Linked DNA regions of Homo sapiens: region 1 is linked to region 2. The links are contacts of gene promoters, found by promoter capture Hi-C in blood cells and fetal thymus (Javierre and others, 2016). All regions are on one chromosome and are shown on one strand. Each heading gives the region's core, a stretch centred on a gene start or on the middle of the fragment in contact. The rest is flanking DNA. Distances are from core to core; before and after follow the strand shown. Region 1 overlaps RBFA (ribosome binding factor A). Region 2 holds the start of SLC66A2 (solute carrier family 66 member 2).

The links. Contacts are between HindIII fragments. The CHiCAGO score rates a contact against its expected background, and 5 or more counts as called.
Region 1: a contact is called between a fragment that was not itself captured here and the fragment with the promoter of SLC66A2 in region 2, in 1 of 17 cell types (neutrophils). The highest score is 7.2, in neutrophils.

Annotation. Positions count from the first base shown.
Region 1 is chr18:80,037,400-80,043,709 of GRCh38, forward strand. It overlaps RBFA (ribosome binding factor A), which reads left to right. Exons shown (of 7, transcript NM_024805.3): 3 at 1-107; 4 at 1,106-1,218; 5 at 4,736-4,820. Among named protein-coding and RNA genes, the nearest start is that of RBFA, 6.1 kb to the left of the region's middle. The HindIII fragment of the contact is 3,769 bases long and covers 2,197-5,965 here.
Region 2 is chr18:79,949,752-79,956,018 of GRCh38, forward strand. It overlaps SLC66A2 (solute carrier family 66 member 2), which reads right to left and starts at 1,902. Exons shown (of 6, transcript NM_025078.5): 1 at 1,830-1,902; 2 at 973-1,274. The coding sequence starts at 1,175. LOC124904336 (a long non-coding RNA gene) reads left to right here and starts at 3,058. Exons shown (of 2, transcript XR_007066429.1): 1 at 3,058-3,328; 2 at 3,525-6,267. RefSeq lists silencers at 1,184-1,303, 1,344-1,423, 1,744-2,253, 2,384-2,433. The HindIII fragment of the contact is 12,677 bases long and covers 1-6,267 here.

The DNA.
Region 1 (6,310 bases), core at 2,831-5,330, 90 kb after region 2:
CGCGCCTGAGGGCCCTGAACGGCCTCCTCTATAAGGCACTGACAGACCTGCTGTGTACCCCTGAAGTGAGTCAGGAGCTGTATGACCTTAACGTGGAGCTCTCCAAGGTAGGCTGTGTGGCCAAAGAGAAGAAATGGGTTGAGACAGCAGGCCTGGCACTTACTTTACCTGGCCCAGTCTTGCCTGACAATTAAAAAAAGACGCTTTAGACTGGGCGCGGTGGCTCACGCCTGTAATCCTAGCACTTTGGGAGGCTGAGGCGGGCGGATCACGAGGCCAGGAGATTGAGACGATCCTGGCTAACACAGTGAAATCCCATCTCCACTAAAAATACAAAAACTTAGCCGGGCATGGTGGCGGGCGCCTGTAGTCCCAGCTACTCGGGCGGCTGAGGCAGGAGAATCGCTTGAACCCAGGAGGCGGAGGTTGCAGTGAGCTGAGGCCGCGCCTCTGCACTCCACCCTGGGTGACAGAGCGAGACTCCATCTCAAAAAAAAAAAAAGCCACTTTAGCACTTATGAAGTCTTAGTTCTGGGTTGCAGAAATAGAAATGATGCTCAGTCTGGTCATTGGAGCCCTGGAGACAGATGGTGAGTGTCTGTGCTGTGCAGAGGCAGATGTCTCACTGCAAGGCGGGAGTCCTGTGACCAAACAGCACCTGGCACATTGTCAGATAGTAGAAGGTCTAAGCCTGCCGTGGGAAGAGGATGCATCTGCATGTACCTCAGTACAGAGGTACAGGAGATGACTTCCTCTGACCCACTCAGTGAGTTGTAAGGAGAAAAGGCAGCATCGAGCATTTTTGATTAGTGTCTCAGGGCAAGTGGCTGTGAGGCAAGCGTGGGGTCAGGGTTCCGGTTTGGTTCTGCAAACCAGGTGGTTTGGTTTGCGGGTCCTGGTGAAGAGAGGAGGGAGGTTTTGGTTTCTGGGGCCCTACTTCACCTGGGGACATGGTGCGGCAGCAGGAGGTGGCCTCCAGCAGCATGCCAGAGCCCTGGCTTGGGTGGGAGGGGCGTCTGCAGCTGTCGTTTTCATCTCCTGGATGTTGTTTGTCTTGAAAACCCATGTAAGCTAAAAAGTGACCTGTGGAGGGGCGGGGTCTCAGGTTTCCCTGACTCCAGACTTCTCAGCCTGCCGAGCGTACTGGAAGACAACGCTCTCTGCTGAGCAGAACGCACACATGGAGGCTGTCCTGCAGAGAAGTGCCGCGCACATGAGGTGATGACCTTTGCTTTCTGAATGTACTTGCTTTTTGCTCATACCCTAAATTTCTCAGCTGTTTCACTTGTAGGTGGACTTGAACTTTTCATTGAGTATTTTTGCTTTTAAAGAAAATTTTGGAGGCATTTTCTTGAAGTTCATAGTATAATTTGCATTTTTGTATAAGCTATAATGTAGGTTAGCATTTATTAAAGTGTGCCAGGATCACTAGGGATCTGGAGATCCTGTCAGGGAGTTCATTAGGGTAAGACGTTATTTCACCTCTCCTGCTGTGTTGACATTTGCACTGAGGGTACAGAAACCATGAGGGAAGACTGCTGGTGCCATGCTGCCAGCCAGTGCTGTAGGGGCGCCATGCCACATGCCTAGAGTAAAAGACAATGTTACTTTTACTTAAGAATATCCCAGATGAGGCTGGACATGGTGCCTCTCACCTGTAATCCCCGCAACTCGGGATGCCGAGGCGGGAGGATCACTTGAGGCCAGGAGTTCAGGACCAGTCTGGGCAAGATGGCGAGACCCTGTCTCTACAAAAAATTAAAAAATTAACCAGGCACAGTGGCAGCACACGCATATAGTCCCACCTACTCAGGAGGCTGAGGTGGGAGGTATCCCCTGGATTCCTATCAGCCCAGGAATTTGAGGTGGCAGTGAGCCGTGTTAATGTACCTGCATTCCAGCCTGGGCAACGGAGCAAGACCCTGTTTCTCAAAGAAAAATTAAAAAATCCGAGACAGTTTATCAAAAATTATTAATTGTATTAAATCTTGACCCTTGAGCATGCCTTTTTCATATTTTTTGTAATGGGAAGTACATGTAAATCACCTGCTGTCTGGAGAATGCTGAACAGAAAAGCATCAGTGAGCAGACTGTTTAGGTTTGGGTGTTTGGCAGACATTCTTTCAAAAATAAGCGAGTGAACCTACCACTCCGGAGCAAACAACAGACCATATCTGTTGCCAGTGATAAAATTTAAGCTTTCAAGTGAAAATCAGAATTTTAGGAAACTTGTATTCACCACTGTGAGCTTGACAACTTCTAGGTACTTGAGACTCTTCTGATGAGATTGGCAGCGACCTTAACAAACGTGCTGTTGTATGATAAACTGTGTCAATGCTTTTAAAATCTGCATAACTAGGTGAGCTGTTGTTTTCCAAATGACCAGTGCATGAGGTTACAAAACCATACGCTGAGAGATCAATTCAAAGTGTGAGCCAGATGGTGAGTTTTAATGTAGCAGAGTGTGACAGGTTGGTTGGGTGTGGTTTCAGATTCCTCATTGCAACTATTTATATGTTTATTTATTTGAGATGGAGTCTTGCTCTGTCGCCCAGGCTGGAGGGCAGTGGAGTGATACTGGCTCACTGCAACCTCTGCCTCCCGGGTTCAAGTGATTCTCATGCCTCAGCCTCCTGAGTAGCTGGGGTTACAGACGCCCGCCACCATGCCCAGCTAATTTTTGTATTTTTAGTAGAGATGAGGTTTCACTATATTGGCCAGGCCGGGACAACTGACCTTTAATAAAGTACATTTGTTGAATTTTTGTGACAAAGAAGATCCATACTTTTCTCATGGCTGTTAAATTCTGTCTTTTCCAACACATAACTGGGAGGCCTGAATTTTTTTTTTTTTTTTTTTGCTTTTTTTGAGACAGGATCTCATTCTGTCTCCCAGGCTGGAGTGCAGAGACACAATCTTGGCTCCTGCAGCCTCAACCTCCCAGGCTCAAGTGATCTTCCTGCCTCAGCTTCCCATACAGCTGGAAGCACAGGTGCATGCCACCACACTTGGCTAATTTTGTATTTTTTGTAGAGATAGGATCTCTCTATGTTGTCTAGGCTGGTCTCCAACTCCTGGGCTTAAGCGATCCTCTGGCCTGAGCCTCCCAAAGTGTTGAGATTACAGGCATGAGCTACTGCGCTGGCTCTTCTTGTATTTCAGTGAGAGGAAGGACAGAGTGCAGAAGCAGCAGTGAGATCCCAGCTGTCTTCCATGAAGCTGGCCTTGGAGAATTTGCAAATACATAAACAATTCCATGCTTTTCATTGATTTTGTGGGGGGGAGTGTATATATATATTTTTTGTTAAAAATGTCTATGTAAGCATTTAGTGGGTTTTTAAGCGACTTTAAAAAGACGTAGCTTTTAGAGTTCTCAGTTTTAGTTTGTAGTATAGTAAATATTGATAGATAGAACCCACATAAACAAATGCTCTTTGGGATCTTCAGTAATTTTTAAGAATGTAAAGGATCCTGGGACCAACAATTTTGGGAATTGCTGAGCTGGATGATAATAAAGAAATTATTCAGTTTCCTCCTCAGTTTTAAAAAATGCAGAAATCCAAATCCAGCTCACTGTCCAGCTCTCTCAGAACTGGAATTCCTCCTTTCTGCCTCCCTTCTCATCATGCCCCATGTTTAGGGTGGGGACAGACGTAGAAAAGGTGGCCGTGTGTGGGCTTCGTTCCAGGCACCCTGCCTGGCTTCCCTGCATCATTACCACACACGATGATGCCCAGGGGTCTGTGAAACTGCATATCAGAGAATGCTTATTTCTTACTGTTTAACAAAAGCAAGAAAATGAGAGATTATTGACAAGTGTTGAAACAGCATTGTTTTCTGATTTTTAGGTATCAGAAAATTCAGTTGAGCTGAATGTCCCTCTTCCCAACTCCTGCGGTCACCCAAGATTTAGGGTCACCGTTTTCCATAGCTGTGTACCAAAGATCTGTGGTCACGGCTTTCGCTGGTTATATGTGCCGTGCCTACATTGGCCCTAGGTCTGTATTATGTGATGTGCATGATACAAATATCACTTCTGTGTCTAATATCTGGGAACCTGAGGGTTGTGTCGTGCCAGGGCGTGTCCACTGGGCACAGGAGGACAGGCTGTTAGTGCACAGACCCTGGAGCCCAAGGCTACGGCGATGAGTTCAGATCAGGTTATTTGTACAGATCGCACAAGTTGCGTTGAGAAAAGTCAAGGCAATTGCAGTTATGATGCATTTTGCATCCCTTTTTTGATGTGGTAGTTGACTAAAGATGACTCTTCTGGGCTGAGGTTTTCATTTTTGAGTAATACGATAAATCTCACTCCTGCCTCTTTTTTTTTTTTTTCTTTTTTTTTGAGACCGAGTCTTGTTCTTTCACCCAGGCCGGAGTGTAGTGGCACTATCTTGGCTCACTGCAAGTTCCGCCTCCCGGGTTCAGGCCATTCTTCTGCCTCAGCCTCCCGAGTAGCTGGGACTACAGGTGCCTGCCGCCACGCCTGGCTAATTTTTTGTATTTTTAGTAGAGACGGGGTTTCACCATGTTAGCCAGGATGGTCTCGATCTCCTGACCTCGTGATCCGCCCGCCTCGGCCTCCCAAAGTGCTGGGATTACAGGCGTGAGCCACCGCGCCCGGCCTCTCACTCCTGCCTCTTGGTTACATCTTGAATCATATGTTCAGCACTGTCACGCCTCTCCACTGAGTGTCACGGCACAGCTGTGAGGGTCTGTGCGTTCTGTCTCCTAGGCACCTTTTGATGTCCCAGCAGACCCTGAGGAATGTGCCACCGATAGTGTTTGTTCAAGACAAGGGAAATGCAGCTCTAGCTGAGGTAAGGTTTTCAAAAAAACTTTTTAAAATTTAAAAATTTTTATTTTTTTAATTAGAGACAGAGTCTTGCTATATTGTCCAGGCTAGTCTTGAACTCCTGGCCTCAAGGGATCCTTCTGTCTCAGCCTCCCAAAGTGCTGGGATTTATAGGTGTGAGCCACCGGGCCCAGGTAATAATTAACTTTTTATAACATAAACGCTTATATGAATAAAGTTTTAAATTTAAGTTTTAAATCCTGAAAAGATAATGTACAGTTAAAAAAGAGAAGAGGCCAGGTGCAGTGGCTCAAGCCTGTAATCCCAGCACTTTGGGAGGCCGAGGCAGGTGGATCACAAGGTCAGGAGTTAGAGACTAGCCTGGCCAATACGGTGAAACCCTGTCTCTACTAAAAATACAAAAAAATTAGCTAGGTGTGGTGGCGTGCGCCCGTAGTCTCAGCTGCTCGGGAGGCTGAGGCAGAAGAATCAGTTGAACCGGGAAGGCGGAGGTTGCAGTGAGCCGAGATTGTGCCACTGCACTCCAGGCAGCAGAGTGAGAGACTCCGTGTCAAAAAAAAAAAAGAGAAGAAACCACTGAGAAGGGAACAAATGAAAAGTAATGAAAGAAAGGTGCAAATGAAAAGGCTGTCCCTTTCTCCTGTGCCCCTGTTCCCAGCCAGGTCCCCAGAAGTAGTTGCTGTTTCTGGTTTTAATTTTTTTATGCTTATCACTGTAGCTCTAACTAGGGTATGAACTCAACACGGCCAGAGTTGCCCTCCCACGCCTGTCTCCCCCTCCCACCTCTCGAAATGGATCAGTCCACTTTCGTTTCACATTATTGGGGCTTATGAGACTTAGGTCTGTCCTGTAACCTTAAGTGCTTTTATTATCATTTTCCTTGCTTTAGAGATGGGTTAGCTATAAAGATTAAAAACATGTAAATATATACTTCTCTGGGTGGTGGTTACCTGGCAGTTATTAAGATATGTTATACCTTCAAAAAGTCAGTCAAAAATCAGCGAATAGCGTTTGCAGTATTATAGGTAACTGTTGTTCAGTATAGGACCAGACAGCATTTGGATCCACAGAAGAAAAAGATCCAGTTTGACATTTTTGGTTTTCGTTAATCAGTGTGTAGGTAACACTAAAAACATTGTACAAGTAATAAGCTTGACAGATTCGTGATTTCCCTTGCTAGAAAAAGAAACGAAGGAGTGAAGTTATAGTCCCTGCCGTAAGGAATCAGGGACAGTTCAGGTCATGGCAGTGTGCTGTGAGGGCATGAGCAAGGTGTTCCCTGGGGAGGACGTGCCAGTCTCTCTGTCTGAGCTCAGCACTCCAGGCTCCTGTCTCTGGGGAGGGAGGTCCCATCAGGTGGTGTGGGTTCCAGAACAGTCACTGGACAGGGGAGAGTGCATGCTATGCTTGGAGCAGGATGAGGACACCCCCGGAGGCAGGGGATAGGCAGGCAGGGTTCGGGTGGAATGCATTGTCCAGCAGGGCTTGTGGGCC
Region 2 (6,267 bases), core at 652-3,151:
TGCCTGGACTCCTTCTCTCCACCCCTCCACCAGGCCCTCTTCATAGGAAGAGCAGCAGACACCTTCCAATCTGCCCGGACAGAGAGGCTGGGATCACCCAGAAGAAAGAAAAATTTCAGACGTTTTTGGCCTTAGAATGCAGCTGTGAGACCTCATTTCCTCTGAAAACTCACCCTCCCAATTATGTCTGCCTTCAACAACTGTTAAAATTAATTTCAATTTCCTTAGCCTAATACAAATACAAAGAGGAAGTTGGGGAGAGGAACAAGACAGTCTCCAGAGAGAGTGACTTCCTATTTAAATAAGGCAGGCCAGGCGCCGTGGCTCAGCTTGTAATCCCAGCCCTTTCAGAGGCCCAGTGGGGAGGGATGCTTGAGGCCAGGAGTTCGAGACCAGCCTGGGCAACAAAGTGAGACAACCCCCCACTCCCCTGTCTCTACAAAAAATACAAAAAAAACAATTAGCCGGGTGTGGTGGTGCGCCTGTGGTCCCAGCTACTCGGGAGGCTGAGATGGGAGGATCACCTGAGCCCAGGAACGTGGAGACTGCGGTGAGCTGTCATGTCATCATGCACTTCAGCCTGGACCACAGAGCAAGACCCTCTCTCAAAACAACAAAGAAAAACTATACAACATGAAAAAGGAGGGCAGGAACGGCTCCTCTCCACAGGCAGGCCTAGGCCAGTGCCCAGCTGAGAGGTCCCTGCTAAGTACCCATGTGGAACATCATGCAAGGAGGCGGATCTGGAGATTTTCTCTGAGATTCTGTGCTCCAACCCCACCGTTTTTCTGGAAAAATAATCTCACCCTAAGAAGTGACTTGCCTGCAGCCACGTACCCCATCCACGGCAGAGTGGGACGCTGGCCCAGCAGGGAGGTGTGGACCCTGCTGCTCCCCCGGCCTCAACCAGAAACCCCAAAGGAGAAACCCTCTTCTCCGGGTGCAGCCCAGGAAAGCAAGCCCCCAACTTACCAGAAGAGTATCCGCAAAATGTTGGCCACCAGCAGCACCAGGCACACGTAGGTGGAGAAGCCGTCGGCGTTCTGCGTCCTGCGAATGTCCCGATACTGCGGGACGTAGGGCACCACCCCTCCGAAGACCATGGCCGCGGCCGCGCCCCAGGACACCAGCTGGTGCAGTGGCACCAGGAGCCAGTCCAGGCCCTCGGCCTCCATCGCAGCGCCCGCCTGGCCGAGGCTGTCACGGGCTCCGCGCCCCGCGGGCCACCGGCCGCCTGCTCATCGCCGCTCCGCGCGCTCCTGCGGCCTCGGGGCCTGCGGGGAGCGGGGAGCTGCTCGAGTTCCGCCCAGGGAGGCTGGGGCGGCGCGCACGGACCCGACCCGACCCGCGCCAGCCGCAGGACCCGAGGCAGAGCGGGGGCGACCGGGGCCCGGGGCGCGCGAGGAGCGGCCCCTGCCTGGGACGGGGGGGTGTCTGGGGGTCCCGAGACGCTCCCGGAGGGGGCTGGGGAGGGGTCCCAGCGCCGGGGTCGAGGACGGGCGAAGCCCCTGGGGTCACCGCCCGGGTGCGCTTAGCCGGCGGGGGTCCACGCGCGCCCCGGGATGGGGTGGGGGAGGGGGCGCAGGGCCCAGGATCGGGGCGCACTGTTCGGGGGAGGGTCACAGGGCCTAGCATGGGGGCGCACGGCTCGGGGGAAGGGGGCGCAGGCCCAGGATGGGGGCGCACGGCTCGCGGGAGGAGGTGCCGGGCCGGGGACCCCACAGGACCAAGCCAGGGGACTGAAGGCCGCGACCAACTGCCCCGGCCCTGCGTCCTCGGCCGCCCTAGGCCGCCCCCCGAGGACCCCGCGCCGCCCCCGCGCTCCTTACCTGCGCCCCCAGCCCCGCGCCCAGCGCCCCGCGTCCCCGCGCCGCTGACCCGCGCGCGTCTCGGCGTCAGTCCGCTCAGGCGCCGGGAAACCCCGCCCCGTGACGTCACAATGCCGGGCCCCGCCCACGCCGGAGCTGCGCGGAGGCGCCGCGGTGTCCTAGAGCGCGCTGGGCAGGGCGGGCGCAGGCGGGGCCGGGAGCCGGGGCTGTCGGGGCGGTGGGGGCGCGTGGCTCCTCCCGCCCGGTCGGGAAATACCAGCCGGGCGGGGCCGGTCCCTCAGGCCTGGCGCCCACGTTAACCCGTCTCCAGCTGTCCCGGCGCGCGGCCATCCAAGCGGAGGGCGTCGTCCTGGAGGGCCGGGGGCGCGGGGTCCGGACGCCCCTCTCACGCGTGTCCTGAATGCGGGCCACCCGGGGACGAGTCTCGTCCAGCTCTGTCCTGACCCAGGAGACCCGGGGACCCGGCTCGGAGTTTGCAGCGCCCAGAGGCGGCCGGGGTCTCGGGAAACGGAGCGCCCCCCGCGGGTCTCCGCTCCGATGCAAGTGCCCCACGAGCAGATGCGCCGGGGCCGTCGCCGGGGGGCCGGCTGGACGCGCGGCCGTCACCGTGGCCATTGTCATTATCGTGGTTGCGGCCACGGTCGCTGTCGCTGCAGAAACGCGGGGCGGCCTCTCCCCATCCCCGTGTAGTTCTCCGGGCTGAACCGTTGGGCGCCTATTTGCAGAAAAGGCAGCTCCTGAGCCTCAAGACAGACTCGGGGGCCAGGCGTGCGTGAAGCCCGGGCCCTGCTGCCGGCCTCGCGTGCCAAGCCAACTCCGAGCCCCACACCCGCCCGCGGGGAGCTGCCCTCGCCCGGGACCCTCTTGGCCCGCGCGGGTGAGGACTGAGGGCGAGGGGCGCGTGGATGAGGGGCGCGCGGGTGAAGAGTGAGGGGAGCGCGGGTGAAGTGTGAGGGGAGCGCGGGTGAGGGGTGAGGGGCGCGCGGGTGAGGGGTGAGGGGAGCGCGGGTGAGGGGTGAGGGGTGAGGGGAGCGTGGGTGAGGGGTGAGGGGTGAGTGATGCGCGAGTGAAGGGTGAGGGGCGCCTGGGTGAGGGGTGAGGGGTGAGGGGCGCGCCGGTGAAGGGTGAGGGGAGCGTGGGTGAGGGGTGAAGGGTGCGCGAGTGATGGGCGGGTGTGTGTAGGGTGAGGGACGCGTGGGTGAGGGGCGCGGGGGTGTGAGGCGAGGGGTGCACGGGTAAGGGGCGAGCCGCGAGGTTGAGGGGTCCACGCTGAGGGTTGCTTCCCCGCCAGCCGCGGCCTCTTCTCCACGATCCCGGCCCCCTGCCCCCTGCCCCCTGCCCGACTGGTTTTATGGGGGATCATAAGGACAGTCACCACCTAACTAGGAGCAAATCCCCAACAATCGAGGAAACAGGGCGCTCCTGCCTTGCGCCCCCAGGCTGGCGTTGGAACTTCTTTAGAGCCAGCGCTGCGGAGCCCCAGCACCAGGAACGTAGAGGTGAGTAAAAGGCACAGCAGGAAGCCTGGGAGAGAAAAAGCAGCTGCCCCTGCTCAGCCGCGCCCTAGCCTGAGCCCAGCAGCCTTTGGGATCATCTGTCCTCTCTGCCCTGGAGGTTGGAGTAAGCTCCGGACCTCCTTGACCCTCACGGGAGCACTGGGGTCCCAGACGCTATCCTCGGTTATCTTAAATCCAGAGGCTGTGGAGGCATGGGGCAAATTGTGCCCGCAGCCTGGGGCCTAGAGCTGCATCTGTGCACGGGGCCTCCAGGAGCCCGGCTCAGTGGACGAAATCTGGCATGCTCGGACGTCACCCCACAGGCCTCACGCCTCAGAGGCACCCCGAAAGGTGAGTTGATGACTGCAGAGTGAGTTTGTACCTTTTCGAACACCACCTGCCGGGGGTCCGAGCCCCCACCCCCAGTCTACATCAGCCAATCACAGCTCATTGCAGGTGCTGCGCTTGTCACATAGCTTCCTGCAAACAAGAGAAGCCGACCAAGCCATGCACAGCTGGAAAATGGCCCTTATAAAGCCATCAAGTCCTAATCCAGGCAACCTGTAAATATTACCTCGTATGGGAAAACAATTTTTTTTTCTAATGTCATTAAGGATCTTGAGATAGAGAGATTGTCCTGGATTATCCAGGTGGGCCCTAAACACTGTGGCTCACGCCTATAATCCCAGCACTTTGGGAGCCTGAGGCAGGTAAATCTCTTGAGCCCAGGAGTTCGAGACCAGCCTGAGCAACATGGTGAGACCTCGTCTCTACAAAAGATAGAAAAATTATCTGGGCATGGTAGTGTGCACCTGTAGTCCCAGCTACTCCTGAGGTGGAAGGATTGCTTGAGGCCAGGAGGTTGAGGCAGCAGTGAGCCAGGATCGCACCACTGCACTCTAGCCTCGGTGACAAAGTGAGACCCTATCTCAAAAATAAATACATACAACAGAGACAGGGTCTCTGTGTTGGCCAGGCTGGTCTTGAACTCCTGGCCTCAAGCGATCCTCCTGCCTTGGCCTCTCAAAGTGCTGGGATGACAGGCATGAGCCAGCGTGCCCGGCCACATGCATCTTTGTAAGAGGGAGGCAGAAGGAAATTTGGTGCCACACAGAAGAGAGGGCCATGGGAAGATGGAGCAGAGATGAAGATGGGGCCTTGAAAATTGACGTGATGCAGTCCCAAGCCAAGTAACGCCGGAGCCACCAGAGGCCCCAGAAACAAGGAGCAGATTCTCCCCAGGAGCCATGCGAGGGAGCCTGGCCCTGCCAATGCCTTGATTTCAGCACATTAAAAGTGATTTTGGACTTTTGGCCTCCAGAGCTGTGAAGGAATAAACTTCTGCTGTTGTAAAAGCCACTTAGCTGTGGTCATTTGTTGCAGGAGCCAATGAGTGACTGACAAGATCAGAGCTGTGACACAGAGGAAGCAGAGCTGTGCCTCATGCTTTCCAGGCTCTGCTCATGAGAAACAGGTCACTGGGTTGGCCCGGTGCAGATTAAGGTGTCACGTAGGAGCATGAATACCTCAGGGAACCACTTAAGAATTTGCCTAACACATGGTGCTTATAAAAGGAAAAGCAAACAAAGCAACCTTGTTCTGAGAGCTGGGACATCAGAGGAAGATTGGAGCCACTGTTTCTCACTCAGCCTATTTCTTTTTATTTTATTTATTTATTTTATAGAGACGGGGAGCTCACTATGTTGGCCAGTTTGGTCTTTGAACTCCTGGCTTCAAAGGATCCTCTCACCTAGGCCTCCCAAAGTGCTGGGATTACAGGAGTGAGCCACCTTGCTGGTCGCGCACCCCATTTTTTAAGGAAACCTGTACGGAAGGTGGATTGGAAGTCTCACTTTAGGAGCCTGGCTCAGAAGTTCCGCAACTTCAACTGGTGTCATGTGACGTGCTTGGCAGTCACCACCCCCATCCTTACAGCAAAGAATAGCAGGGCAGCCTTTCATGGGCCCATCAGAGAACTAAGGCTGCCAGACAAACTGGCACCCTGCTCTGAAGAGACAGGCACATCCAGGGAGAGACAGCACCTGAGAGCTGCTCACCCAGAGCAGAAACTCCTGGATAAACTGGCTTTAGCAGAAAAATTAGACAACATGCAAGACCAGATAGGTGATATCAGCAGAAAGATGGAAACAATAATAAAAAAAAAATGCTAGAAGTCAAAAACACAATAGAAATAAAGAATGCTCATTAGTTGACTAGACAGAATGAAGGAAAGAATCAGTGAATATGAAGATAAGTCAACAGAAACTTCCCAAACTGAAATTCAAGGAGAAAAGGTGATGAAAAAAAAAAAAATCAACTGATCTAGTTTGAGTGTGTGTCCCCACCAAATCTCATGTTGAGTTATAATCACCAGTTTTGGAGGTGGGGCTTGGCAGGGGGTGTTTGGATCATGGGGGCGGGTTCCTCATGAATGGCTTGCACCATCGCTTCATCCCCTTGTGATGAGTAAGCTCTCACTCTGAGTTCATGTGAGATCTGTTTTTGTTTTTGTTTTTGTTTTGAGACGGAGTCTCGTTCTGTTGCCCAGACTGGAGTGCAGTGGCACAGCACAGTCTCAGCTTACTGCAACCTCCTGGGTTTAAGTGATTCTTGTGCCTCAGTCTCCCGAGTAGCTGGGATTACAGGCTTGTGCCACTATGCCTGGCTAATTTATTGTATTTTTAGTAGAGATGGGGTTTCACCATGTTGACCAGGCTGGTCTCAAACTCCTGACCTCTTGATCCACCCACCTCGGCCTCCCAAAGTGCTGCGATTATAGGCATGAGCCACCGCGCCCGCCTGAGATCTGTTTTTCTTTAAAGTGTCTGGCACCTACCCACACCCTCACTCTCTCTCTCTCTTGCTCCTGCTTTTACCGTGTGAAATGCCTGCTCCCACTTTGCCTTCCGCCATGAGTAAAAGTTCCCTGAGGCCCCCAAGAA